Regions from separate parts of the Homo sapiens genome. Here region 1 is linked to region 2. The links are contacts of gene promoters, found by promoter capture Hi-C in blood cells and fetal thymus (Javierre and others, 2016). All regions are on one chromosome and are shown on one strand. Each heading gives the region's core, a stretch centred on a gene start or on the middle of the fragment in contact. The rest is flanking DNA. Distances are from core to core; before and after follow the strand shown.

What was found. Contacts are between HindIII fragments. The CHiCAGO score rates a contact against its expected background, and 5 or more counts as called.
Region 1: a contact is called between a fragment that was not itself captured here and the fragment with the promoter of SH3TC2 in region 2, in 1 of 17 cell types (total B cells). The highest score is 5.2, in total B cells.

The regions. Positions count from the first base shown.
Region 1 is chr5:148,441,293-148,448,281 of GRCh38, forward strand. FBXO38 (F-box protein 38) reads left to right here. Exons shown (of 22, transcript NM_205836.3): 22 at 677-1,544. The coding sequence ends at 855. Among named protein-coding and RNA genes, the nearest start is that of FBXO38, 61 kb to the left of the region's middle. The HindIII fragment of the contact is 3,098 bases long and covers 2,158-5,255 here.
Region 2 is chr5:149,057,954-149,065,021 of GRCh38, forward strand. SH3TC2 (SH3 domain and tetratricopeptide repeats 2) reads right to left here and starts at 5,109. Exons shown (of 17, transcript NM_024577.4): 1 at 5,018-5,109. The coding sequence starts at 5,069. It overlaps MIR584 (microRNA 584), which reads right to left and starts at 4,456; the gene lies at 4,360-4,456. SH3TC2-DT (SH3TC2 divergent transcript) reads left to right here and starts at 5,364. Exons shown (of 3, transcript NR_122044.1): 1 at 5,364-5,721; 2 at 6,297-6,405. RefSeq lists a silencer at 5,073-5,367. The HindIII fragment of the contact is 16,687 bases long and covers 1-7,068 here.

The sequences.
Region 1 (6,989 bases), core at 2,457-4,956, 620 kb before region 2:
TACATACTTAATATCTTTTTGTGAGTTAGGAGCAGTGCAGTGTTAAATGGTTTCCCATAGAAATAATTTGTATTTACTCACTTCAAAACAGTTCTTTATTTGTGCAGTAGATGTTCAGTGGACTTACTAGGGATATATAAAGGCTGGTAGAAAGGATTCCTTTAGACAGATTTTCCTACAAGATTTTTATATTACCTAAATATTTATAATCTTATTTATTAAATAACTTCAACTATATTGTTTCAAAATTGTTCCAATTGTATTATTCTCCTGCTAGTTATGAGCTGCTTATTGTGTGGAAACTTATAATTTAGGTGTAGAAATTAGGGGAGAAATTTTTGAATGTAGTTTCTCTAAGTGGTAGCATACTTGAATATTTATTGTTAACCAAAGGTTTTTTAAAAATACTTTATAAGGAAATGGATTTTATGAACTACATGTGCATGTGTCTGACTTGCCTTTGGTGCAGTATTTTTACCTTGAGACTTTAAGCATGTATTCTGTCTTAGGCATCAAACATAAGAACAAACTGGTGGTGACCCATTCCTTGACCTATTCATGCATCAGTTACATTATAGTGCAGTATATGGGACTGTCCTATGGACCAGCTTATCAGTGATTTTCCAAATGATTCTGATTATCATATGTATCTCTCCTTTTATTTCTAATTTCAAAGGCACTATCTATGCTCCTAGAAGGAAAGGACAGCTGTCTGCAGACATCTGTATGGAAACAATAGGAGAGGAAATTTCAGAGATGCGTCAGATGAAGAAGGGTGTATTTCAGCGAGTAGTGGCAATTTTTATCCACTATTGTGATGTCAATGGAGAGCCAGTTGAAGATGACTACATTTAATTGGTCCCTCCTCCTTTCCAGCTATTTTGTCAGAAAGCAAGTAGGGCCATCCAGCTGCCAGAGTGCTCCACAGGGACTTGAGGCATGCAGTTGGGAGGTCCTGGCTCGGTTTGCTATATAGGGAATATATAAGGAACATCGAAATTGTATACAAAGATTTGTACATAAAAAATATACAAAGACGCTTCCTAAAGTACCAACTTTATATCATATGTTTATACAATTTAATTTAAAAATTCATTTTAAGGAAGACAGATAATTTGAAAGACTTTTGTTTTTCTTGACTTAATTCATGAAGTATCATTTTTTGACTGAGTCTCCATTTACTTCATTCTTAATGATTATTGTCATCCCTTTAAATCTGTGCCTTTTTCTTCTTGAGCGAAGCTGTTTGAGTAAACCTGTTGAAGAGTGTTTGTGTCTTTTGTGCTTTTTTGTTGTTATTAAAACACCAACTAAACCTTATAGTCAAGACAAGGCTCTATGTTTCTGTACAAAGCTGTAGTTCTTTCTTAGTATTATAGTTGCCATGTTTCTTAAAATCAAGTAAAAAGACTTATGAGCTTAAAAAAAAGTGAGTTTGAGAGGGAAATGGAAAAGTTTCCAGAGTATTTCTAGTAATTTATTTCCACATTGAATTGTGTATATGCTTTATCTTGAATATAAAATAAAAGTTTATTAAAAACTTTTCTCTTGCCTTGGACCTGAATCCCTCTTTTTAAAGAAGAGTAGCAAATACTGCACAGAAAAGCAGTGTATATATAGAGTTGTATCTAAGGTAAGATTCCAGTGTAATCCAATTTCTGATCTCTGAAAGTTTTTAGCTACAAGATGTTCAACTCACATAACTTTTTTTGTTTGTTTTTTTTGGTTTGGTTTTTTTTTTGAGATGGAGTTTCACTCTTGTTGCCCAGGCTGGAGTGCAATGGCATGATCTCGGCTCACTGCAACCTCTGCCTCCCAGGTTCGAGTGATGCTCCTGTCTCAGCCTCCGGAGTAGCTGGGATTATAGGCACCCGCCACTATGCCTAGCTAATTTTTGGTATTTTTTAGTAAAGGCAGGGTTTCACCATGTTGGCCAGGCTGGTCTGGAACTCCTGATCTCAGGTGATCTGCCTGCCTCAGCCTCCCAAAGTACTAGGATTACAGGCAGAGCTCTTTAAGGCAATACTGGGAACAGCAGAATTTTCCAAACTTCTTGTCATCAGGAGATGGCCTTTCTCCCCTTTCAAGGTGAGGAATTAATTGCCCTGATAAGGCAGTGATATACATAGTATTACAGTGTCAAGGGTCGTCAGCAAAAGCTTTAACACCTGCAGAGTCATGGCTTTGTCACTTGCCAGCCAAGTGACCTCAGCAAATTACTTAAACTGAAGGCCTGTGGAACATTTTTATAAATTTTCTCTAGACATGAAATTATGGTCAAAGGTGTAAAGTTTCTTTGAGATTTGTTCAGCCCCTTCATTTACAAGGGCTTAATTGAAGCCCAAGGGGGAAAATTGCTCACTCATAATTAGGACCTGTTTTTAGGCTAGGTAGGACAATAATCCCAATTTCTGATTCCCACTAGGCTGCCTCTGTTTTTCGTGACAGAAATACAAGGATGCCAGCAAGTTTTTCTAACACAAAATATTCCGCGTTAATCAGTGTCTTTCCTTAACGTTCTCTTTTTTTCCCAGGCTCTAAAAATTCTCATTACATTAGGAAGAGTGATTCAATTGGGTACTTCATTCTATTGTCTCCTTATTACATTATTTTTAACTCAGCTAACTTATAATTAGACAAGTGTGTTTCACTATACAGATTACAAGTGTGGTAAGAGGCAGGAAATACAGAATATCCTAGATATTTCAAAGTAATCTGGGATTCCCAACCCTGAGCGAAGACAATCTAACTCTAGGTTTTCACTGTAACCTGTTAACCAAATTATCTAAGTAATGCTTACATTAGCCACAAGAGGCCGCTGCTTTGTAATTTTTGGCTTAGTCATGTCTTTGTCTAACCTAACCTAAACTGTTAGATCAGTGGAAGTACAGCTGGCAGCGCTAAAATCATTCAAAAGTTGCTAAGACTGGAATAGCTGAAAAAAAATCTGGAAGATGCCAACTACGATAGTCACTCTGAATATATATATAATACGAAGGGCTGGAGAGTGATTGCTCTACAGCAAGGGTCAGCAAACTATATAGGTCCAAATGGTAAATATTTTAGGCTCAATGGGCCACATTCTCTGTGGCAACTGCACAACTATTGTGAAAGTCATAGACGATATAAACGAATGGGCATGGCTGTGTTGCAATAAAACTTTATGGACACAAATTTCAATTTCATGTAATTTTCACGTCACAAAATAAAACTTTTTCCACAGCCATTTACTAAAGTAAAACACCATCCTGAAGGCTCATAGACCAGATTTGGCCTCCAGGCCACGGTTTGGCCACACCTGCCATAGAGAACTGAGATATCCTATTCATTCATTTAATTATATCACCAGCTGTTGGTGCAGTGCAGTGCCTGGCACATTTTTTAAAGGCCTTAAAAATACTGCATGGATGATATATAACTTAATATCAGTGAGAGAATTGTGTCTCATTGCCAGGTGTGTAGGTCTAACAGTCTCCCTAAATAATAGCTAGTACCACAATTCTTACAGGGACTTCATATGTAGAATCTGAAGACCTGAGTTCAGTTTTTGACTTCCTCAAACAACTGATGGGAGAGCTGGAGATGGTTGGAACCCCTACCCTTCAGCCTCAGTTTTCTTTTCTGTCAAATGGTAACAACTAATAATATAACCACCCACCCCATAGGGCAGTGGTTAGTTTCCAATAGGAGCCGCCAGTAAACTGGACAGTGTGATGCCAGTGGAGGTAGTATTGCTTCCAGTATAATTTCTTTTATTATCAAAAGAAGTTTGGGTGTTGCCCAGGCTGGAGTGCAGTGGCACGATCTCAGCTTACTGCAACCTCTGCCTCCTGGTTCAAGCGATTCTCCTGCCTCAGCCTCTCAAGTAGTTGGGATTATAGGCACCCGCCACCATGCCAGGCTAATTTTTGTATTGTTAGTAGAGACGGGGTTTTGCCATGTTGACCAGTCTGGTCTTAGACTCCTGACCTCAGGTGATCCACCCGCTCGGCTTCCCAAAGTGATGGGATTACAAGCGTGAGCCACCGCGCCCAGCCAAGTTTGGTTTTGTTTGTTTTTTGTGGCGGGGGGGGCGGGGGGCGGGTGCTGTGTGGGGTTTTTTTGGACTCATCTTTCCATAACCTGTTCCTCATACCATATTCCAGGATAGTAGGAAACAGAACTGGTGAGGCTGTTGAGAAAGAGGAAATCATGACAGTATGAAAGCTAGCATTTTTAAAAGTGATCATTACTAAGTGCTTTCCATACCTCCTGCAATAACACTTTAAATGTATGATCAATATGTTCCTACTTTACTGGTGAGAAAACTCGGTTTTAGAAGGTTACATAACTTGCTCAAAAGCACACATCTAGGAATTGATGGGAGCAGGATGCTGTCAAAGGATGACATCCTGCAGGATGAGTCCAAAGCCTGTGCAACTTGGGCAGTTTCTTGGTCCTTCATAATGAGAGGAGGCCCATATAAGGGTGGGCCTGCCCTAATAGGGAACCTGCCAAGTCAACTTACTGCTGCCACTTAAATTGAAACCACTCCAGCTATGTTTAGCACAGTCCCAGAAAAACAGAGGCTGATTTTCTGATGCGGGAGATGTCCCATTTACACATGGGAGGCAGGTAGAATGCAAAAGAACACTGCAATCCATACAATGTCTATAGCAAGAAATGGATACGCAGCAGCTAAAAAAAACTATATGTGTTAATGTGAAATGATGTTTAGAGTACACTGTTGAAAACGCAAGTAGCAGATTATTATATACCAACATCATTTTATTTACATATAAGAAAAAAAGCCATATGTTATACATGTACATTTATACATATGTAAATGCATAGAAAATTACATTTGAATTACATAAGCCAAGTGAAAAAAGCATTTACTTCTGGGGAGGGGGGTAGCATTGAGTTGGAGTCAAGGGGTATTTTCTTGTATGTATTAATATATATAACAAATTTTTACAGTGGAAATGGATTGCATAAATACATCATTTATGTAACCTATTATTTATATAGTCTAAAAATGTATAATTTATATATTTAGAAATAAAATAAACTTAAGAAGGAAGCACTTTGTTAGAATTGAGAAATCTGAATGTTTTCAGTCCTCTGACTTCAGCCTCATATCAGCTCTTGTTCTTGGACAAATCACTTTCCCTGACAAAGTCTTTCCTCTTCTGTAAAATGAAGTCAACAATCCCTCTTTATATACTGTTATGAGAGACTTAGAGATCTTATAAAAGTGCAGAGAAACTGCACAAAGCTTGCAATGGTAGGCTGATGCTTAATGAGACCAATGGGAGCATATCCAAATAGTGTTCCAGGTTCCGACCAAGAAATATGGGGAAGGCAAACTGCCTTTTTCAGGGGCCACTCCTACTATGAGCAGCCTCTCTGATGGCCTGGAATATAAAGGACCAATGCTTTCTTTGACTCACATCTTGTTCTCACAGTCTATTGCTGGTTATTCAGTAATCCCAGGTTGCTGAATACTAGACAGACTATAAAAGATCAGTGCAGAGGGCCTTTCCTGTTGATCAATAATTTACCAGAGTCTTCCATGGTTTAAAGATGGAAGTTGAGGCTCAGGGAGAGGAAGCAAGAGCAAAGGAAAACAAGAAAGCAAATGAGTGGCAGAGTTCAAACTGGAATAGGCATTCCAGAGTTCCTCTTCGGGTCCCAGGCTGATGTGGAAAGGAAAATTCTTAAGCAACATTGTTCATTGCTCTCTCCTAGCAGTGTCTAACAGGTGAAGGTGGAATACATACATCCCCATAATGACCACAGTTGCACATGCTTAGGACTGTGGGCCTCATTTAGAATAAGACTGCCTGGGTTTGCATTTCAAATCCACACTTCCCAGGTCTGCTACCTTGAGCTAGTCGCCAGATGTCTTAGCTGAGGTTTGCTCAGCTGTAAAGTGGGGGTAATTTTCATTCTAATCTTGTAAGGATTTCATAAGGATTAAATGAAATAGTTCATATAAAGCACTGACCACAATGCCTAGCAGAAAAAAAAAACTCATTAAATGTCAGTTTCTCTTATTGCTATTTTATTATTATTTTTATTAACAAAGATATAGATCTGGGGCAAACTGAAAGAAAAGGTAAAGAAGGAGAAACCTAATCTGAATCCACTGTAACAGTAGTTAAAAATGTATGCAGTTTCTTATCCCTTCTCTCCATGTTTCCAAAAGTGTAGAATGCAGCTTGTAGCTAAATCACAATAACTCCTAAAGCTTGGAAGCTTCTCTTTTGTAAATTCTCTTTTGACCCTCCCAATTAACTGAAAGAGCCCCAAGCAAGAGGTAGGGCATTTCTAACAACTCTCCAACATTCACTTGTCTCCCTTTTAAACACAGAAACAGAGGTTGCACTTTGATCACTGGCATCTAGTTAAAACTCATTAGCCTTTTTTTCTATTTTGAGTACTGATATAATGTTCCCTTCAAAAATAAATTTAGGTAAGTGAAAACTTGAATGGACTTAAATAAGGATATTAAATAGGTAACAGAACAGGCAGAACACATTTGATAAAAATCCTAACAGTGGCCCTCAGATGACCCATGTTGGAGCACTTACAACAATCGTACAAACTCAGAAATTATCTCTATTTTGTAGATGAGACAGGTGAAGTTAAGTGTTGGGTAAGGCCCAAAGCAATGCGTTGTTCATACTTAGGACTTCAAATCCATTCCTGAATTGTTTGACTTCAAACCAAATATTCAGCCTCAGTTTTCTAAATTAGATGGAAAAGAGATTACAAATTTTGGCCAGAAGAGGTAAATGCATTAGTCTTTTTTTCCTTCCTAGACTAGATGTTACAAGATTTTGACCACAGCAAAGTGAAGAGACAAAAAGAGAGGAGTGACAACGTTTTCTCACCAGAGAGATCCAATACCAAAGAGATAAGTGGGTAGACAGCACAGCACCAAGAAGACATTATTTTTGTTCTTGCTTGAAGACAATATTAAAGGCAGTGTAGTTATATCCACT
Region 2 (7,068 bases), core at 3,859-6,358:
ACACTTAGTGATTTCTTTTCACTGGACTAGAAGCTATGAATATGACAGCCTGGAGCTGTGGCACCCACCACAAGGAGAAAGCCCACCTGACATTGAGTCCAACCCATAAAAACAGAGCTTAGGAAAGATAGCTTTCTGATAACATCATCTGAACACCTTGATTTAGCAATATCTGAAGAAAAAAACCTAGATTTTCAGTTATTAATCAATAAATTGCTTTTGATATAAGCTAGTTTTATTTTTATTATTATTGATCAGAAAAAGTTACTAACCCTCAATTCAGAAAAACACTGAGATTTATTTGTAAACTGCCAAACTGTTTTCCAAAGAGGCTGTAACATTTTGTATTCCCACCAGCAATGTGTGAGAGTTCTAGTTGCTCCACATCCTCACTAACACTTGATGTTATCAGTCTTTTTAATTTGGGCCATTCTAAGTAGGTAGGCCATTTTATCTGATTGTTTCAATGTGCATTTCCCTAATGACTTACGATGTTAATCACTTTTTCACATGCTTATTAGTCATCTACATACTTTTTATATGGAAGTGTCCATTCCAACATTTTGCAATTGTTATTGGGTTATTTATCTTATCATTATTGAGTTGAAAGAGCTTTTTTTTTTTTAATATACTTGTTCTGGATATTACTCCCCAGTTGATGGCTTGCTTTTTGTGTTCTTAGCAGATGTATGTAAGTGGGAGGAAAGCAGGATGGGGTGGGAATGAGCTTTGTACATACATGGGATGCTAGAAGCCAGCCTGCGCATGCTGGGGAGGTGGGTAGTTGTGGGACTAAAATGGATAAGTATGGTAGGTTCAAGATGGCAGAGCACTTTAAGGCAGGCAGGGGTGTTTAGAATGGATACAGTAAGCGATGGTGAGGTGTGAAATATTCTTGAGCATGGCAATGGCATAACAAAAGTGAAAATTCTACTTGGGTAACCTGGGAAGGATAAGGAGAGAAAAGCACAATAGGCAGAGAGACCAGCTGAAGAGGTGCTGTGAAAATCCAGGGAGGTGAGTGTAAGAATGTGGGCTGTGGCCCTGGCAATGAGAAGTGAGGGCATAGAGTGAATGAGGCTATATTTTTAAACAAGAAAAGAGAAGGCATCTTGACATATTGAATATGAGGGATAAACATGGGGAAGAGGCAAGAATTGCAGAAAATGAATGAAGGAAGGGATTTAAAAGATCACCTAGCTCCACTCCCAATTTTACTGTTGAGAAACTAAAGGCCCAGAGAGGAGTCATGATTTTACTGAGATCACACAGCAAATTAACAAAAGCGCCAGAGGCCATCCAAATCAATGGGTAGGAATGGGTAGGGACCTTGCCATTTTCTCTACATTAACCTGACCTCAGAACTCTAAAGTCTCGGGCCTCTGATCAGGGAAACATCTCACAACAACTTGCCGAAAATGAGAATTCACCTTCATTTCTCCTCTCTCAGCCTCTCTTTGCTCCTACCCACCCACCACCATGCTCAACTTTAAAAAGAAGACTAAACAGTAAACATTTATCTGCATGTTTTTTTTTTCCTGTACCCACATTTTCTTTTCTTTTTTGACCTAACAGACCTACCATCAGCAGTTTTTATGATGTAAACCCACTTTCTCCTTGTTGGGACGAATAGCATGTTAGAAGTACAGCTACATCTACCCACATGAATATATCTTAGATGATAATGTTTAGCAAAAAAAAAAAAAAAGTTGCATCATGATATCATTTTGTTTAAGTTTTAAAGTCTGCAAAACAATTCTTTGGAATGATTGTGAGTTCATGAATATGTAGTGAAAGCACATAACCATTGAATTCATGAAAGTTATTAACTACATGGAGAGAGAAGGAGAATGAGATTGGAAAGAGATATCCAGGGGCCCCTAAGTATGTTTATGATGTTTTATTTCTTCAAAAAGTAAGAGAAAGAAAAAGGTAAAGTTCTGAAGATAACATGGCATAATGCAAAAATTTGTTACAGCTAGATGGTGGGCTAACTATTCTAATATCCTCTATTATCAGTAGTTTTAAATGCTTTACAAGTCATTTAAAATTCAAAAGTGAAGCATCATTTACTATTATCAGCATTCACCCTTGATCTCCTGTTATTATACTGATGATTCACATTTATCAAAAAGGTTGAAAGGAAAGTTACAAGCACCAGTGATCAACAGAGGCGAATGTATCTCTTCCACATCTTCTATTTAAGGGCATAAATCTGCCAAATTTCTTCAAACAGGCATTGAAAATAAGGGTGAAGTGCTAGAAGTTTTTTGATCAACAAACTTTGACATGGCTTTCTCTGTGATCCAAAGTGAGCAACTGTAGCTTATTAAGCAATGGCAAGAAACAACTCATAGATAGGGTGGGGAAGTCAGAGATGATAGCAACTGATCAGAACCTATCCTCTCACCATGTGCAGTCCCCCCTGATTAGGGGAGTTCTGTGAGCAGTTGAGAGCCATCCCAGGGAACAGATGCTGCAGGCAGAGTCCACATGTAAGAATGCAGGTGCCTGGAGTAGTCAGAGTCAACGTTCATTATTGTGTCACTCCACACAAACTAGTCTGGCAGCTGTCCAGTGCTCAGTGCTATCAAGAGCCTTCTCCTTTCCTGTGTCCATTAGCCCTGAGGACTCACTGTTTTGGTGTCTGCTGTTAACTCTCACTTAAACAGACACAAGGCAGAAGCACCCCAGGAAACATAAGTACAGACTTCTCCAGACCAGTAAGGAATTAGGAGGAAGTGATGTAGGAGTGGCCCATATTAACTAACGATAAAACAGCCTGTAGTTACTGAAGGGTTATCAAAAGCCAGACCTTGTGCTAAGTCCATGAGAGGAATTATTAAATTTAATCCTCACAAAAGTTCCATGGGATAAGTACCACCATTAGATACAGTTTACAGCCAGGAAAACTGAGGTTCAAAAAACATGAGGGACTTGCCCAAGGTCACACAACTATTAAGTTGCTCCAGGATGGGTCTCATACTTTGTTCCTTTTCTCTAGGATAAATAGGGGAATCTGGAATGGGAATATCCAGATCGACTGGACTTGGACCTACAACACCAATATCAACCTCGCTAGGGAAAGGCCCTGACACATACAGGGAATAATATGGGGGAATGGCATGAAAAGTCTCGAGGGAGATACATAGCAGGCTAACTCTTGGTGAAAAGGTGAATGCGGGGTGCCAGCCAGTAATCAATGGCAAAAAGAAGGTGAAAGAATAAAGTAATTGAATGATAGTGTTATTATGATTTTGACCTTTTTCAATATTTTGTTTGTTTGTTTGTTTGTTTTCAGCTGCGTAACTCTGTTCTACAGGAAATCTTTGGCTGAAGGACGATGTCAACTAGAAGCAGAGCCGCTCTAGGTAGGAATGAGGGAACATGAGCAGAGCTCTCTGAGGCACCTCTACACAGCAGTTTACAACCCTAAAATTGTATATATGATTAAATGGAGGCCCAGGGAGAGCGCGAGTTATACTGGGGTCATCAAAATGGAATTAACAATGGTGAATTTTATTGTGCTCAACTAACTGTGCACCAGACTGTTTCACCATTTCACATGTAGACTTAATCTCCACCACAGCTCTATGAAGAAGACATAATCATGTCATAAAAGCTACAGATAAGGAAACTGAAACACAGAGAAGTTAAATAAGTTGTCGAGGCAAGTAAAAGAACCAAGATAAAATCCAGACACTTTGGCCTCAAAGACCAAGTGAGTAGCCAAGATGACAACTGCATAACTAGAGCTAGAGGAAGTCAGATCTAGAACCCCGATCTCCGACCAGTGGTCCTGCACGTCTCCCTCCATGCTGTTTCTACTCTCATGGGGCACAATGACAATAGGACTTAGGGGGAGGGACTGAAAAGTGTTTACATCTGAGAAATCTGGAGAAGCGAAATTGTTCATAGCTAAAGTCGTGCCTTTTGTGCCAAGGGCATCATTTGGGGGGACACTCCCTGCTGTAGGTGCCAAGGTGCCTAGATCAAGACTTCAAGCAGAGGAAGCAGAATATGGTTGTTTTGGGTTCACTTTAATGACCTCAAGTGCCTTCTACAAGCCCAAGTCATAAGACTAAAGAAGAAAGTTGTCTGTCAGAGAGTAGAAAGCCCTCAGCTAGGGGATGCTCCTTAGCTCCTTCTCTCAGGAACCATGGTGGAGCTCCAGGAAGACACAGAGTTCTAACAAGGGTTAGGAATGATTCCTTGGAGCAATGTTCCCCTATCTCCCAAGCAAGCCTCCCCCCACCAATCTAACCCCACATTTCCCCAAAGCCACCACTCATCCTGATAAACACCACACAAGAGAACACAGGGCCCTACCTTGATTCTCCTCTGAAAAAAAGCAAGAAGGTTGCTTCAGGGAGACCAACCAGCCTGGTTGGCCTGGAACTGACATATCCCAGCAAATTCCTCAGTCCCAGGCAAACCATAATGGCTGGTCACCCTAAGTCACTCTCCCATGAGTTGACAATTTCTTAGAGCAACAACTCTCCATTGCCTCAACTTGATGCACACACTCACACATGCACTCACACACAAATCACTCTGTAATAGGTGGAGGCAGGAAACTGCCTGTTTTTCTCCAGTAACAGCAACCCTGACAAAAATAGGCTTGAATGACTAAGGCCAAGTTTATGGCCACCCATAGGCCACAGAGGAACTCACTGCCTGAACTTTCTTCCTGTCCTGGGGGGATCTCGGGAAGAAAGGAAGGAAGGGCTTAGTCACACCCTGGGAGTGGCAGCCAGGAGCAGTGCTGCTCAGCTCCTGACAGAGTAAACTCAAAGGCTCTTTCTTCAGGAAAAAATAGATGCTTCCAGGCTTTGCTCCCTTTTTACAGAGCCAGCATGACAAACACTTACCCAGGGAGGAAGGAGAGGCAGCCAGAAAGCACAATCATCTCCCCATCTTTGGGAGAAAAGTTTCTCCAACCCAGCAGGTCCCTGAGCCTCTACTGGACCATCCACTTTGGCCAAGCCACAGGCCAAGGGCCCCCTGGGAAACTCACCTGGGCCCCGGGTCAGACTCCGCTCCCTGGGGATGCAGAAGCAGCCACCCATGTGTGTACCATCCTACCCTGGCCGAGGCCCTTGGGAACACAGGCCAGAAGAGTGCTGCAAGGGACAGCCTCCCAACGGTGTCCCTCCTCCCGCCTCCTCCCTGGCACACGAGGGACCGAGGCCTGCTCAATGCACAATGCAGCCTTTGATATCCCGGCTACAGCAGGAGGCCCAGGGAGGGTGGGAGGGGCAGCCCAGCCCAGCCTGCAGGCCCACAGCTCCTGCACTGTCAGGCCTGGGGAACAGGGCTCCTCCCTGCCTCTCAGCAGATCGCTTCATGCCTATCAGCCTGCAGCACATTCCTCGCATTCTAGGATTGAGATACACAGTTTGGTTCTTGTGAGGGCAGCCAGGGCTGGGGAGGAGGGCAGAGAACATCCCAGAGATCAAGACTGCTCTTCTTGCTCCCTCCCCGACTGACTTGGCCCACACTGACTGGCCTGCCACCCCTTTACAGTGATCTCCACCCAGTCTCTCTCTGCAAAGGCCTCCCTTGGCTCTCTGATAAAGTTGGAGCTGTGGGTGCAGCATTTCACTTGGACCTAGCAGCATCAATGAGCCAGCTCCTCACTGGGGAACATGCAAACCCCCAGCTGCTGGTGTGCAGGAAAAGAATCCAGGAGATCACCTGATGAAGCCCAGCATTTTACAGGTGAGGGGATGGAGAACCAAATACATCAAAGGATGGGGAGAGGTTGGTCAATAGGTAAAAGGTTAGAGTTACATAGGAGGAGTAAGTTCTAGTGTTCTATTGCACAGTAGGGGGACTACAGTTAATAACGTATTGTATATTTCAACATAGAAGAGAGGATTTTGAATGTTCTCACCACAAAAAAACAATGATGTTTGAGATGATGGATATGATAATTACCTTGATTTGTTCATTACACAATACATAGATATATTGAAACATCACATTCTAGCCCATAAATGTGTAGAATTATTATGTGTCAATTAAAAATAAAACTAAAAGAAAAAATACAGCAAGTCTACAGGTATGCAAGCAAAACTGGTCCCACAAGACTAACCTCTTTCCTGTTTCAGATAGGCAGTGGAGCAGGGGAATCCAGTTGACACTGTGGCTAAATTTCAGAAAACCTCCCATGAGATCTTGCAAAGGAGATGGAGAAAATATGGCTGAATGCCAGCAAGGTAGGACGGAAGCATGACTGCTCTAACAACCAAGCTCAAAGAGCACTGCTCACCCAATGTTTCCTTCATGACTAGAGCAAAGTGGTGAAAGGACCCTGGTGAGAGGCCCAAAGAACAGGAGGTGTGAGCCAAGAGAAGGTCCTGCCAGGCCTATGTTGCAGGCTATTTGGAGGCTGAACTTGAGGTCAGTATCACCAGCATTTTTAGGACGGCAGTGGCCTGATCAAGTTTATATTCTGAGAGGAGCACTTGGGTGACCAGGTGAAGAATGGCCTAGGGGTCAGTCCCACCAGAGATCAGGAGTATCCACCTCACACACCAGCCTAGCCCCAGAGGACAGGGTCTTGAGCCTGTCTCTGAAGCACTGCTCCCGTCTCCATCCTGACTCATCCTGAGACACAGTTACTGAATGTTTACTGTGGGCCAGGCTCTCACTGTACATTATTCTATTCAAATCCCATAACAGCCCCATAATGTAGGCATCATTTCTACTTTGTAAGTGAGGAAACGGATAAAGAGGAGTGTATAACTTGTCCAACTCCCTCCCTTCTCCCACCATTTATGAATGTCAGAGTCAAGACTGAGCAAGGTCTAGTTGATTCCACAGCCCAGAAGAATCACGTTTCTGATACATGGGATACATTGTGGGTTCTCCCATGACTACTAGGACACACAATGAGAAAGGCCTAGGAAGGACTGAAACCTCTGGAGCCAGCTAACCATTTACACAAAGCCCAGGAGATGAGAGCTGGGGCAGGGAGTAGAGCGCAGGAGGGATGGGGTCTCTCTGATCACATTGCCACCGGGGAGGATGTTTTCTCTGTGCAGGTCTATTTAAAGTATCTAC